5 separate regions of the Homo sapiens genome follow, and all the other regions are linked to region 1. The links are contacts of gene promoters, found by promoter capture Hi-C in human tissues and cell types (Jung and others, 2019). All regions are on one chromosome and are shown on one strand. The core of a region is centred on a gene start or on the middle of the fragment in contact, and the rest is flanking DNA. Distances in the headings are between cores, read along the strand shown.

Region 1 (2,700 bases), core at 35-2,534:
GCCTCCGCCTCCCAGGTTCAAGTGATTTTCTCCTGCCTCAGCCTCCCGATTAGCTGGGATTACAGGTGCCTGCCACCACGCCCGGCTAATTTTTTTTTGTATTTTTAGTAGAGACGGGGTTTCACCCTGTTGGCCAGGCTGGTCTCGAACTCCTGACCTCAGGTGATCTGCCCGCCTCGGCCTCCCCAAGTGTTGGGATTACAGGCGTGAGCCACCGTGCCCGGTCTGGCCTTTCTTGAAATAATCACCAGAGTCGAAGTGCAAGGGGGCCTCCAAGCCAGAGCTGTGTTATCCCAAGAACAAGGAGCTCCGCGGATCGCAGGCCCCTCCTTTCTGGGTTCCGACCCCAAAGGGAAGGTCCCTTCTCCAGGGGCGTCCTAGGCGCGGGCACCGGGGTTCTGCTGGCACAGCCCGGATGGGCGCCGCTCGCCCGCACACCTGCGGCTCCACAGAGGGCCGATCCGTTCGGTTGCCAGCAGTGGAGACCCAGGCCCAGCGGTTCCACCAGCGCCCCGGCGGAGTCCCAGGGCGGGTGTGGGCGGCCCGGCAGGGGCTGCGGGTCGCTGTCAGCCCGGGTCCCGCCGCCCTGGGGAGCCGCCTCCGTCTGCAGCTTCTCCTGGGCCTGGCGGGGCCCTGGTGGGCTCCAGGCCGGGAGGGGCGCAGCGATGGGGCGTCGGGGCCACCCGCGTCCCCTCCCCGCCCAGTCCCGCCCTCGGGCACCGAAAGCCCCTCCTCCCCCCGCCCCGCCGCCCCTTCCGTCCGGCCCGGGGAGAGGCCCTGCGCCCCCGGAGGTCCCAGCCAGCCGGGGCGTCTTCCCCGCGGGCCGGAGCCGGACCCGAACCGCTCGCAGACGCGGGGCCTGGCGGGGCGTGCGGTGCCGGGGTCGTCTCGGGAGCGGGGGTCCCAGCACCGAGCTCGGGCGCAGACAGGGACCCCCCCACCCCGCCCAGGCCGGCTCCGCCCCAGAGGAGGCCGCGGGGAGGTGGCCCCAAGTCGCGCGCCCGAGGGTCGGACCCAGAGACGCGGAGCCACAGGGGCAGGCGCGGCCCCAGCCCCGCGAGGAGGAGCCCCGAACCCGCCGAGCCCCCCGCCGTCCCTGGGGCTGGAGTCCCCCTTCCCGGGGACCCGAGGGACGGAGCCGCCGCCGCCGCCTTCCCAGGACTCGGGGTCACCCCCCGCGGGCCGAGCGGCTTCCAGGGTGCGGGGTCCGGGAGGCGCTCACCTGGTCCCGAGGAGGCTCCGCTCCCGACGGCCCGAGGCGCGGGCGCCGAGTAAGCAGCAGGGAGGGAACCGCGGCCGGCGCCGCCCCCTTTATACCCCGCCCCGCCGGCCTGACCCGCCCCGCCGCCAGGAAGCGCTGCGGCCCCGCGGATGGGAGGAGGGGGCCGGGGGCACGGGAGGGGGATGGGAGGGAAGCGGGGACCCTCGAGGGCGGGAGGCTGGAGGAGGTGGAGAGGGTGGGGACCCCCCTGCAGCCCGGGCCGAGCTCCCCCGCCAGCCCCTGCCCGCTGCTGCTCGGACTTCGCGTCCCGGGCCCGGCCGCCCGTCGCCCCCGCCCCATTTCCCGGACGACCTGGCTGGGGCTGTGTCCGCCTCCGGGGCCCTGGGTGTTGGGGACCGCGCCCCGCACGCAGGGCCGACGGGGGCCCTGGGACTCGCCCCTTGGTAGCAGCTGCCCTGGGGGGTGCAGGGTTCCCCCCATCAGCCCCCCGACCCCTCCCCTACCCCGTGTCCTGTGTCCGGCTTGCTCAGGCCTCCCGCGAGAGGCCCCGGGTCAGGAGCTCCTGCAGAAACTGCCGCTCCTGGGGCCTGAGGGTGGGGAGCCGGGAGGGCAGGGACAGCAGAGCCTGGGCGCGGAGGTTGGGGCAGAGCCTGGGCATGCGGCGAGCCACCCCTGCCACCCCTTTCCCGCTGGAAACCACAGGTGGGCTTGGTGCTGGGCCCTGGGACCACCGTGAGGTCCCCACCTGAGCCCAGCCGGGGACAGAGTGACAGGGGTCCCTGGTAGGGCTCTGTCTGGGGTCCCCACTCCCCACCCTGGTCACAGTCCCCCAGCCAGGGCCGGGGTTCCTCCTTGAGGTGAGGCGCAGCCGGGTTGGGGAGAGGTCCCTGGGCTCCGGGACAGGGCTCCCTTCAGAGCTGTCCTGGAAGGTGGCGGAGCGGCTGGGGGCGAGGTCCCTCTTCTGATGAGCAGGTTTGCAAATGTGGTGTGTGTGTGTGTCTGAGACTGAGTGTGTGTGGTGTGTGCATCTGAGTGTGTGGTGTGTGTCTGTGTCTGAGACTGAGTTTGAGTCTGTGGTGTGTGTATCTGTGTGTGGTGTGTGTCTGTGTCTGAGACTGTGTGCATCTGTGAGTGTGTGGTGTGTGTCTGCGTCTGAGGTTGAGTGTGAATGTGTGTGTCTAAGTGTGCCTGAGTGTGAGTGTATGTGCCTAAGTGTGCCTGAGTGTGGCAGCCACATGGTAGCCATGAGTCCAGGGCTCCTGCCTGCTGCTCCTGAGCACAGCTGACGGCGGGCACCGTGTGCCACTCCCCTGGGTCCATGCCGAACTCTCACCTGGGCAATGCCTCCTGCTTCCAAGCCAGCAGCTCCCAGGGGGAAGCCAGGCCCCTCCTCACAAGACCAGAATCCTTTAGGGGTTACCTTGGCTCCAGAAGTTCTCCCTCGGCCTGGCCAGCACTGTCTAGGGGCACGTGCTGGC
Region 2 (2,700 bases), core at 201-2,700, 140 kb before region 1:
AGCTATAAGCAGCAATCCACTCATTTGGAAAATGTCAGAAGAATTAATTATAGATGCATAAAACCAAAGTAAATTAAATAAGATAAGCCAAACAAGACAATTACAAGTAATGTTAAGTAACACATCGAAGCAGTTGTTTTTGGATTAATACCACCTTTTTCATTAAATATAAATTGGAATTGGATTTATAAATTAAAGGGAAGTGGTTTCTCTAATTTTTTTTTTTTTTTTTTTGAGATGGAGTTTTGCTCTTGTTGCCCTGGCTGGAGTGCAATGGCGTGATCTGGCTCACTGCAACCTCCGCCTCCCGGGTTCAGGCAGTTCTCCTGCCTCAGCCTCCCAAGTAGCTGGGATTACAGGCACGTGTCACCATGCCTGGCTAATTTTTGTATTTTTAGTAGAGACGGGGTTTCACCATGTTGATCAGGCTGATCTTGAACTCCTGACCTCAGGTGATCTGCCCGCCTCGGCCTCCCAAAGTGTTGGGATTACAGGCATGAGCCACCGAGCCCAGCCTAGTTTTTTTTTTTAAATTAAGCTTTATCATAGGAAGTTGTTAAATTTTTAATAAGTACATTTCTGCTTCTCAGTTGATGTCATAACTTAGTTATATTCTTAGTAAAAAGCAAAGGCTTAAGGCTGGGTGTGGTGACTCATGCCTATAATCCCAGCACTTTGGGAGGCTGAGGTGTGCACATCACTTGAGTTCAGGAGTTGTAGACTAGCCTGACAATACAGCAAAATCCCGTTTCTACAAAAAAATACAAAAATTAGCTGGGTGGCATGCGCCTCTAGTCCCAGGTATTTGGGAGGCTGAGGTGAGATCATTTGAGCTTGGGAGGTCAAGGTTGCAGTGAGCCAAGATTGTAACACTGCACTCCGGCCTGGCCAACAGAGCGAGACCTTGTCAAAAAAAAATAATAATAAAATTGGCCAAGCACAGTGGCTCACTCCTGTAATCCCAGCACTTTGGGAGGCCGAGGTGGGTGGATCACCTGAGGTCAGGAGTTCAAGACCAGCTTGGGCAATATGGTGAAACCCCATCTCTACTAAAAGTACAAAAAATTAGCTGGGCACAGTGGCACTTGCCTATAATCCCAGCTACTCAGGAGGCTGACGCAGGAGAATCACTTGAACCTGGGAGGCAGAGGTTGCACTGACCCGAGATTATGCCACTGCACTCCAGCCTGGGCAACAGAGTGAGACTCTGTCTCAAAAAAAAAAAAAAAAAAATTATATAAAATTTTAAAAAAGCAAAGGCTTAAAAAGTTTTTAAGTATATATAGAAGATTAATGAACAATAGTTAACTTCCTAATGCTCAAATATTTTTGAATTTATTACATATTGTTTCAGGTTTGAAGATCAGCTTCAGCAATGGTTGTCTGAAGACTCAGGAGCATTTACGGATTTAACTTCCCTTCCCCTCTATCTTCCTCAGACTCTAGTGTCTCTTTCTCACACTATTGAACCTGTGATGAAAACATCTGTAACTACTAGCCCACAGGTGAGAAGAACGTATACATTTGGCATTTACATAAGAATTAAAGATTGAGAGAATGGCTGGGGAAAAAAGTAATATCACGATTTATCCTATGATGTTTTGATGACCGACAAATTATTAGCTCAAATTAGACCTTTTCTTAAACTTTATCCATATCATTGTTAAAGAGACCCAACTGATTTTGAGTTTCTGCCTACGAAATAAATGAAGAATAGAATTGAAATATTCTTAAGAACTGAATAAGACCTGTAACTGTGTGCTGATGTGTAATTAAGGGCATTAAGGTGATGACAGCAGCTTCTGTTGGAGCACATATTGTCTGAGCTTTGGCATTACCCAGACCTCTCTTCTGGGATTAATTTTTCCTGAGGAAAACTAATGAATGAGGAAGGTAAGCTCCCAGAAGTCAAGAGCCTCACCCAAGAGTGTTCAAGTAGTGAGTGGTCAGGTTGCTTTTCAAAGCCAGATCCAACTGGCTCCAAAGCCTAAGGTCTTTTTACCTTACCATTCTTCCTTCAGTGGTTAAAGATGCAAAAACAGAGTTTCAATCACAGATATGTGCCACTGAACAGGTAAAAACTGTGCTCCTGGACTGGCTTTAGGAAGTCCTTCAATAGAGGAGAAAAGCAAATTAAAATGATGTACTGTTTCCATTCATCAGTTTGGCAAATACTTTAAAAATATTCATACCCTTTGAATTACCAATTCTAACCTAAAGAATTCTGACCTACCAGATATTCCCCAAAAATTAATGTATAAAAATGTTTACTGTAGCATTATTGTATGAAAGTCGAAACAGAATAAATATCCGAAGATGGGAGTCTGATTAAACAATTATAACACATTCATGTGATAGAATAATTCACAGCCCTTGACGATGATATTTTCTAAAAATGACTGGCTGGGCGTGGTGGCTCATGCCTGTAATCCCAGCACTTTGGGAGGCTGATGAGGGAGGATCGCTTAAGTCCAGGAGCTTGAGTCCAGCCTGGGCAACATAAAGAGATCTCATCTCTACAGTACATAATTAGCCAGGCATGGTGCTACATGCCTGTTGTCCCAGCTACTCAGGAGGCTGAGCTGGTAGGATCACTTGAGCCCAGGAGTTTGAGGCTGCAGTAAGCTCCGATCATACCACTGCGTTCCAGCCTGGGTGAAAAATGACTGACACTGGAAATTGTTCATGATAGAATACAAA
Region 3 (2,700 bases), core at 123-2,622, 220 kb after region 1:
AAACTAAAACCAGAGAAACAAAAAACAAAGCCAACAAAATTAAAAATGAGGCTGGGTGCGATGGCTCACGCCTGTAATCCCAGCACTTTGGGCGGTCAAGGTGGGAGGATCACTTGAGCCCAGGAGTTCAAGGCCAGCCTGGGCAACACAGGAATACCTAGTCTCTACAAAATATAAAAATAAATTGGCTGGGCATGGTGGTGCATGCCTGTGGTCCCAGCTGCTTGAGAGGCTGGGGTGGGGGGATCACTTCAGCCCAGAAGAGGCTGCAGTGAGCCATGATCACACTACTGCACTCCAGCCTGGATGACAGAGTAGGGCCCTATCTCAAAATAAATAAATACAAAAGATAAATAAAAGGTGAAATGGCAGATTTAAGCCCTAACATCTCAATACCGTAATAACTTTAAGTATAAATGGTCCAAATACACCAATTGAAGCACAGATGGGCAGAGTGGATTTAAAAATATGACCCCATCATATGCTGTCTACAGAAAACTCACTTCAAATAGAACAATATAAGCAAACTGAAGATAAACTAATGGGAAAAGGCGTATCGTGCAACCATTAATCAAAAGAAAGCAGGAATGGCTATATTAATATCGGAAAAAATAGACGTCAGAGCAATGAAAATGATCAGAGACAGAGAAGGACATTACATAATGATAAAAGAGTCTAAATAAGCAATAGCAATCCTAAATGTGTATGAATCAAATAACAGAGCTGTAAAATATGTGAAGCAGAAACTAATAGTAGTGAAAAGAAAAATATAAAAATCCACAACGACAGCTGAAGACTTTATTACTGTCAACAACTGAAAGAACCACTGGGCAGAGAATTAGCAAAGGATTTGGAAGGACTCAACACCATCAACCAACGGGGCCTAACGAACACTTCCGGAACACTCTGTCCAGCATCAGCAGAATCCACACTCTCTTCCTGCATGTACAGAATCTATACCAGGATAGACCATACCCTTGGCCATAAAAGAAACCTCAGCAAATTTAACAGAATTGAAACCGTAGTGTATGTTCTCTGACCACAGCTGACTCAAACCAGAATCAATCATGGAAAGATAACAAGAAAAGTTCCAAGCACTTGGAAATGAAACACATATATGAACAATCCAAGGGTCAAAGAGGGAATCTCAAGGAACATCAAAAAACACATTGACCTGAATGAAAATAAAAACACAGCATATCAAAAATCGCAGGACACAACTACAGCAGTGCTGAGAGGGAAACCTGTGGCACGAAACACACACATTTGAAGAGAGAAAAGCTTCCAATCAATAATCTAAGCACTCATTTTAAGAATCTAATAAAAGAAGAACAAAATAAATCCAAGTAAGCAGAGGAATGAAATACTAAAGACCAGAACTTGGCGCTGGTGTAAGAACGACATGCAGGCCGGTGGAGGAGAGCGGAGAGCCTGGCAGGAAACCCCGCAGCTGCAGCCAATCCATCTACAATAAAGACACCAGGAACACACACGGGGAAGGACAGTTTCTTCAATAAACGGTGTTGGGGAAACTGGATGTCCCTGTGCAGAAGAATGAAATTAGACCCTCATCTCACACCATCTATAAAAATCAACTCAAAATGGGTTAAAGACTTAAATGTAAGATCTGCAACTGCAAAACCACTAAGAAAAAACACAGGGAAAAATTCCACGACACTGGTTTAGTTAATGATTTTTTTTTAAATATGGCCCTCAAAGTACAGGCAACAAAAGCAGAAAGTAGAGAAATGGGATTATATCAAACTGAAAAGCTTCTGCACAGCAAACAACAGAGTGAAGAGACAACCTAGGGAACTGGAAAAAAAACTGCAAACCATACAACATCTGATAAGGAGTTAATACTCAAAATGTGTAAGGAACTCAAACAACTCAATAGCAAGAAAACAAATACCAGATTTTAAAAAAATGGCAAAGAAACGGAATGGAAGCTTCTCAGAAGGAGACATACAAATGGCTAACAGGTATATGAAAAAGTGCACAACATCACTAATCACCAGAAAAATGCAAATTCAAACCACAATGGGATATCGGCTCATACCTGTTAGAATGGCTATTATCAAAAAGACAAAAGCTAAGTGTTGGTGAGGAGGTGGACAAAAGGGAACCCTTGTACAGTGCTGATGGGAAACTTAGTACAGTCATTATGGAGAACGGTACGGAAGTTCCTCAAAAAACTAGAAATAGAACCACCACAGGATCCAGCAGTCTCACTTCAGGGCATATACCCAAAGTCACTATAGTGAGGAGACACATGCAGGCCCGTGTTGATTGTGGCACAACTCACAACAGCCTAGATATGGTGGAATCAGCCTAAGTGTTCATAGAGAGACGAACGGATAAAGAAAATGTCACACACAGACATACACACAGAAAGAAGCCATGTCATCTGTGTCACTGCGGATGAACCTGGAGGACATTATAACAAGTAAAATGAACTGGGCACAGAAAGACAAATACTGCATGATCTCACATGTGGAATCTAAAAAAGTGCATCTCACAGAAGCAGAGGGTGGGAGGTGGCTGTCGGGGACTGCGGGGGGTTGGGGGAAATGGGAGCTGTTGGTCACTGGCACAAGTTCAGTTAGACGGGAGTCAAACAGGCTGGGGAGCTGCTGTGTGGCACAGTGACTATGGGTAAGAACAATGTATACTTGAAAATTGCTGAGAGTGATTTTAAAT
Region 4 (2,700 bases), core at 83-2,582, 250 kb after region 1:
TACACGCGGGTGCTTAAGCAGCTCACACACACACATACACAGGTGAAGGCACACACTCACACGTGTGGACACAGGTGCTTAAGCAGCTCACATGCATACACATGGCAAAGGCACACACTTACACACATGTGCACACGGGTGCTTAAGCAGCTCACAGCATTAGCCAGGCTCTTAAGAAATGGTTTCAGCTTCACCAGAAGGTTTCAAACCTCAGACAATCACAAGGCAGCATGCTGTCTCTCTGTAACATTCTCCTCATGCCTCTCAGCATCAGGGAAACCGCTTCAGACAGGAAACCATGACTTGGTAAGAGATCATCTGGTGGCAGGTGCCCCTTGCTAACCAAGGCTGGTTAAGATGAACAAAAGGCATAAGAGAGCAGAACTGTCAGTGACCCCTCCGGAGGTGGACTCCTTGAGAATCCAGGTATGGTCCTTTTAGGGAGAACAGTTTAGAAGATATTCAAGCTGATACCTTAAATCTCTGGGGTACCCAGTAAAAAAGTCTAAGAATTCATAAAAGGAAGCTTCTGATGAATGCAAAATTTTGTTCAACCTTAAATAAAGCATATATATATGTAAACTATATATATAAATAAAGCATATATATAAACTTTATATACGTATATAAACTTCATATACGTATATAAAGTTATAACTTTATATACGTATATGAAGTTTATATATAACTTTATATATATGTATATAAACTCAGACCCAGTCTTCTTCTTATGAATCTGCCTGGAGAGGAAGAAAGAAGAACCATGGTTTCATATGTACCAGAGTTTGGACCCTAACGTTGCCACTTTTGTGGGCTAACACCCAGAACTATCTCCATTCTGTCACATCTAAGATGAGGAAGCCACGCTGCCCTTGTGGTGCGCGTGGAACCATGCCGCGGGGAGCACCATTGGCAGGGAGCACCAACACACAGTGCTCACAGAGGAGCGGGGAGACCAGCCTGCCTACCATCTCCATTACTTCTGCCACACAAAATCCTCCAGCCACGCTGAATTCTACCCTGGCAGGTGTCCTGCGGCTGCAACAATGCTGGAGGGAGGGTGGAGAATGTGACCCCAGGGCTCCCTCACCTTGCGCTGGGTGACATCTGGACCATGTGAAGGGCTCTGGAGGGCAGGGCAGCACCACCCACCCCTGCCACCCAATCATAAGAGTCCTTAGGTGCTGGGGCACCTCCCACCCAACGTGTCTATGCTCCATGCAGCAGTGTGCAAGACCTCCCTAAAGTGGGGCTCTCACCAAGACGGCAAAGCATTTCCTAATGCAGTGGGTCAATCGTCCGGCTCAAAGGGCAGCCTTGGAGCTGGACAGACCAGCCCAATGAAAAACAAGCACGGCCTTGTCCGCAACCAGACTGCTGGAGCTGGGGCCTGCAATTTTGGGTAGAAACACTGAGAAGAAAGACTGAAAGAAGGTCAAGGAGAGAGACGAGCATTAATGGAGGAAGAATGCTACAAGAAGGAGCAGTGAGGTCAGAGGTCACAGGCCCCAAATCGCCCAACTGGTGGGAGATGCCAACATACCTCTCTCCTTTACAGTTCACACAAGTATACCCCACAAAAGTAATAAAGATGCAGAATATATTAACAGCACAAACAACATGATAGTGCGTATGTGTGTCTGTGTGTATATAAAACCCTGTACCTGACAAGCAGAGGTAACACATTCTCCTAAGGCTCTCAGAGAACAAAACAAAAATTGATAACGTTTTAGTTCATATTGCAGGTTTCAACAAATGTTGAAAACATGGAGTCCACAGAACATATCTCCTACTCAGTAGGCAATTAAATATCATTAGCAAAAGATAACTTTACAATTCCCTTGGACAAAACACTTTTTAAATGTTTCCAGATAAGAAATAGATGAGATCAGAAAACAGACCTCAACAATAATAAAATTATTGCATGCCAAAATTTGTAGCAAACAGCTGCAACAGAACTCACAGTAAAGTTTATAGCTTTTAAAAGGAGTAAAGAAACACAAAATTAGTGAGTCACGAATCCCATTTAAAAAGTTAGAAAAAGAACAGAAAGTATCCACAGAAAGTGGAAAGGTAATAATAAAGAAAAGTTCAGAAGTTAAGCAAAGAAACAAAGGCAACTGAGAAGATCAGTAAATATAAAATTTGGTTCTTAAAGTCTAAATAATATACAACCCTCTGATGAGATTAATCAAGAAAAACAACTGCGAAGGCACAGGGGATAGTAGTCACGTAAAGGAAGCCATGCCTTCTGGTTCTGGACAGGATGGAATAGACACCTCTCTCCCTATTCTTCCTGCTGAGCACAGCCAACAACTCTGGACATTACATGTGGAACAAACAGAAGAGAACCCTGAAAGCTGGAGGGAAGAAGGGGGACTGGCTGGGCCCTTGGGATTTGGAGAATGACACAGCGGTGAGTTCGCTATTCTTTGGGTTTCTTATTTGTTTGTTCGTTTTGTTTGTGCTTCCTCCTCTATATTTCAGACAGGGCACTGGAAAAGCAACTGAAAAATGCCAAAGGATACACACTGGAAAAAAACAGTCTCAAGAAAATTCTCTCTAGGGAAAGGGATGGGAAAGGAGGAACCTATTAGGTCAGAAAGCATCTGAGAATACCTGCCCTGCTCCATGCACAGGACAGGACGCACACAGCACCCTGCCCGGTCAGAGGGGCTGAGCTGAGAGCCTCGGCTTCCA
Region 5 (2,700 bases), core at 41-2,540, 150 kb after region 1:
TATAATTAACAAAGATTGTGAAGGAGGGGCAGGCATGGTGGGAAGTGGAGAGCTAACTCCTCATCTGTCCTGGCAGGAAACAGCAGGAGAGGTGGGATCAGACCCAACAACAGCTGCGAGCTTTTCTGTACTGAGGCGTCTCCTCCCCCAGCCGCCCTCCCTTGAGGAGGAGCCACAGCACCCTGGAGGAGGCAGAGCCGGAGGCGGCCGCTGCGGGAGGCTGCCACGGGGCAGTGCCAACAGGGCTGGAGGGAGGGAGGCGGGCAGGAGGGGTGTGTGTACGAGGCCAGGCCTGGGGCAGTCTCCGCCCCGAGGACAGGTTTCACTCAGGAGGTAATGGTAATTGTGCTTTGTAAAAGGCCACTCTGGAGAAGGAGGGTGGCTGTGTTGTGGTGGAGAAGGTGGGTGCATGGCTGCTCTGGACACAGCATGGGACCCTCGAAAGGGCTCGAACCCTCCTGGGGGTTGGAACAGGGCCAGGGGCTTTTGGACAAGCCCTGCCTGTTGTCCTGGGCAAGGTCCCCAACCCAGTGCCCTGGTGCACCCTTCACTTGCTGGTGCCCCCAAGGCCACCCCGCCCCGGAGTCACAGGTCACAGTTTCCGCAGGACACGCAGGGGTGAGGTGGCACCTGACGGCCTCAGGGACCCACAGGAGGCATCTCATAAAGGCACGTAGTCCAGGTCTTCCTCGTAATCCTTAGACGTGAAAGCTCGGGGGGAATCCGGCACTCCGGGCACTCGCTGCCATTCCCAGGTGGGTGCGTCACCGCCGCCCACTCACAGCATGGTAGATGCTGGCGGTGGTTGCACCCCGGCCCGTCAGGCCCAGGCTGGGAGCATGGCCCTGTGCCCACCTGTGGGTCAGTGCCCGTGCAGAGGCACCTGGAAGTGTCCTTGCCAAAAAGAGAACGGAATCGACAAAGCTTCTGTGACCACCTCCCACCTGTGGGAATTCCGGGGGCCAAGGAGTGAGGTCGGCGTCATGCCAGGAGGCGCGGGGGTGGACGCCTGGGCTCCTCAACAAGCATCATGTGACGACACAGGGCACCGGGAGGGGCTGGTGCATGACGGTCGGAGGGGCAGACGGGTCTGCTCAGGGGTGGTGCTGCCTTCGGGAATCCTCACAGCCAGGCGCTGCTTTTTCTTTTTTTTTGAGACAGGGTCTCTGTCGCCCGGGCTGGAGTGCAGTGGCGCGATCTTGGCTCACTGCAGCCTCAACCTCCTGGGCTCAAGCGATCCTCCCACCTCCTCAGCCTCGAGAGCAGCTGGGACTACTGGCATGCGCCACCACGCCCAGCTAATTTTTGTATTTTTAGTAGAGACGGGGTTTTGCCACGTCGGCCAGGCTGGTCTCCAATTCCTGGGCTCAAGGGATCCGCCCACCTTGGCCTCCCAAAGTGCTGGGATGACAGGCATGAGCCACCGCGCCCGGCCCAGATGCTTCTGCTGGAACATTTGCTTTTCTCAAAATGTCCTAGAGTGTGTTTTTTATTACTGTGTAGCTCTGCACTTAATAGAGGTATATCCAACTTCTCCAAATTAGAAGACAATCCCCATGGGAGGTAAAGAGAAGTTATTCTCTGGGTGACGCTGAACGAAGCCGACAAAGCAGCCGGCACTTGGCATGAAGTGGGCGAAGTGCACACGCCCACGTGGGGTGTGTTTCAGGTCTCGCCACAGCCACACGTCCTTTCATCAACCAACAAACCTCTTCTTAATCCTTTTAGCATGACGTTTTTTACTCCTGTCAAAGTAGTTTTTATATATTTTTATAGCGTTGTGCGTTCGAGGATTGAAAGTGGAAATTGTTATTTGACGTATTTCATGGTGCAGGAAAACTCATCATGAACCTTTACCTCAGAGAAACATGAGATCATCCCAGGTAAGCCACGGAGCTTGTCCTGGGCTCCTGACAAGCATCAGCCCAACGGCCAACACCAAGTGCGGCTCCCAGCACGTCCAGGCCGTGCCTGCGGCGACCGGCTCCTCCCTCCCTGTCCTCCGGAGGCGGTGAGTCTCCACGCTGCCTCGTCTCCTCATCCTAGAGTCCAGGTGCTCTTCCAAAGCAGGATGGACGGGGGCCCGGGCAGGGCTGAGAACTGTGCTTCCCGACCTCCCGGTGGAGTCTGCCTTTCCCCAGGTCTCCCGCTGTGCTCTTCTGTGGTTCCGGGGTTGACTGAGGACATGAGATCATCAACATCCACGGGAAGCTGGTGGCGACCTCAGGGAGCTGCTCTCTGTCGAGCTGTTGACGTGCTGGGCTTTTTCCCAACTACCCTTGGTCTTATCAGTAGAAACACCTAAAAATGCAGCCCCGCCCCCGTCAACCTGAAATCCACCCATGCAACTCCGGGTAAGAGGAGCCCCTCCCCCAGGCCTCCTTCCTCCACCTTCCCCGAGTCCGTCAACACACCGCACAGCCTGCATCACTGGCCTTAGCCACGTGGAGGCAAATATTGGTCCCCGGAGAGGGCCTCCCTCCCTCCCTCAGATCCTCAGAGTTGGAGGTGAACTCCCATGGCTGAGCTGCAGGGTGCCTTGGATTTCCATGAGTCCAAACCCTGAGCAATTCTGAGGCCGGCCAGTCCCGCGACGTTATCCTCTGTTTTATAAAACTGCCGGCACTGGTGCTAAGTGATGTCCACCAGGAACAAGAGGTGACCACTGACTGGATGTCGCCACAGTTCCTGAGAACAGTT

Evidence for each region. Contacts are between HindIII fragments. The study calls those that stand out against the background at their distance.
Region 2: a contact is called between a fragment that was not itself captured here and the fragment with the promoter of COL6A2 in region 1, in 2 of the 25 tissues and cell types used here (heart left ventricle and mesenchymal stem cells).
Region 3: a contact is called between a fragment that was not itself captured here and the fragment with the promoter of COL6A2 in region 1, in 3 of the 25 tissues and cell types used here (mesenchymal stem cells, spleen and thymus).
Region 4: a fragment that was not itself captured here is called in contact with the fragment with the promoter of COL6A2 in region 1 in 2 of the 25 tissues and cell types used here (liver and lymphoblastoid cells).
Region 5: a contact is called between a fragment that was not itself captured here and the fragment with the promoter of COL6A2 in region 1, in 2 of the 25 tissues and cell types used here (mesenchymal stem cells and mesendoderm cells).

Annotation. Positions count from the first base shown.
Region 1 is chr21:46,096,696-46,099,395 of GRCh38, reverse strand. It overlaps COL6A2 (collagen type VI alpha 2 chain), which reads right to left and starts at 1,284. Exons shown (of 28, transcript NM_001849.4): 1 at 1,223-1,284. It overlaps COL6A2-DT (COL6A2 divergent transcript), which reads left to right and starts at 1,751. Exons shown (of 2, transcript NR_186433.1): 1 at 1,751-1,924. RefSeq lists an enhancer at 1,167-1,461. The HindIII fragment of the contact is 26,496 bases long and covers 1-2,700 here.
Region 2 is chr21:46,235,634-46,238,333 of GRCh38, reverse strand. It overlaps MCM3AP (minichromosome maintenance complex component 3 associated protein), which reads left to right. Exons shown (of 28, transcript NM_003906.5): 27 at 1,355-1,505. The region is part of intron 2 of MCM3AP-AS1 (MCM3AP antisense RNA 1); the gene reads right to left. Among named protein-coding and RNA genes, the nearest start is that of MCM3AP-AS1, 7.8 kb to the right of the region's middle. The HindIII fragment of the contact is 5,213 bases long and covers 1-2,700 here.
Region 3 is chr21:45,881,585-45,884,284 of GRCh38, reverse strand. All of the region lies in intron 5 of PCBP3 (poly(rC) binding protein 3), which reads right to left. Among named protein-coding and RNA genes, the nearest start is that of PCBP3-AS1, 47 kb to the right of the region's middle. The HindIII fragment of the contact is 4,995 bases long and covers 1-2,700 here.
Region 4 is chr21:45,842,809-45,845,508 of GRCh38, reverse strand. All of the region lies in intron 4 of PCBP3 (poly(rC) binding protein 3), which reads right to left. Among named protein-coding and RNA genes, the nearest start is that of PCBP3-AS1, 7.7 kb to the right of the region's middle. The HindIII fragment of the contact is 8,875 bases long and covers 1-2,700 here.
Region 5 is chr21:45,948,361-45,951,060 of GRCh38, reverse strand. No RefSeq gene overlaps it. Among named protein-coding and RNA genes, the nearest start is that of COL6A1, 32 kb to the left of the region's middle. The HindIII fragment of the contact is 4,709 bases long and covers 1-2,700 here.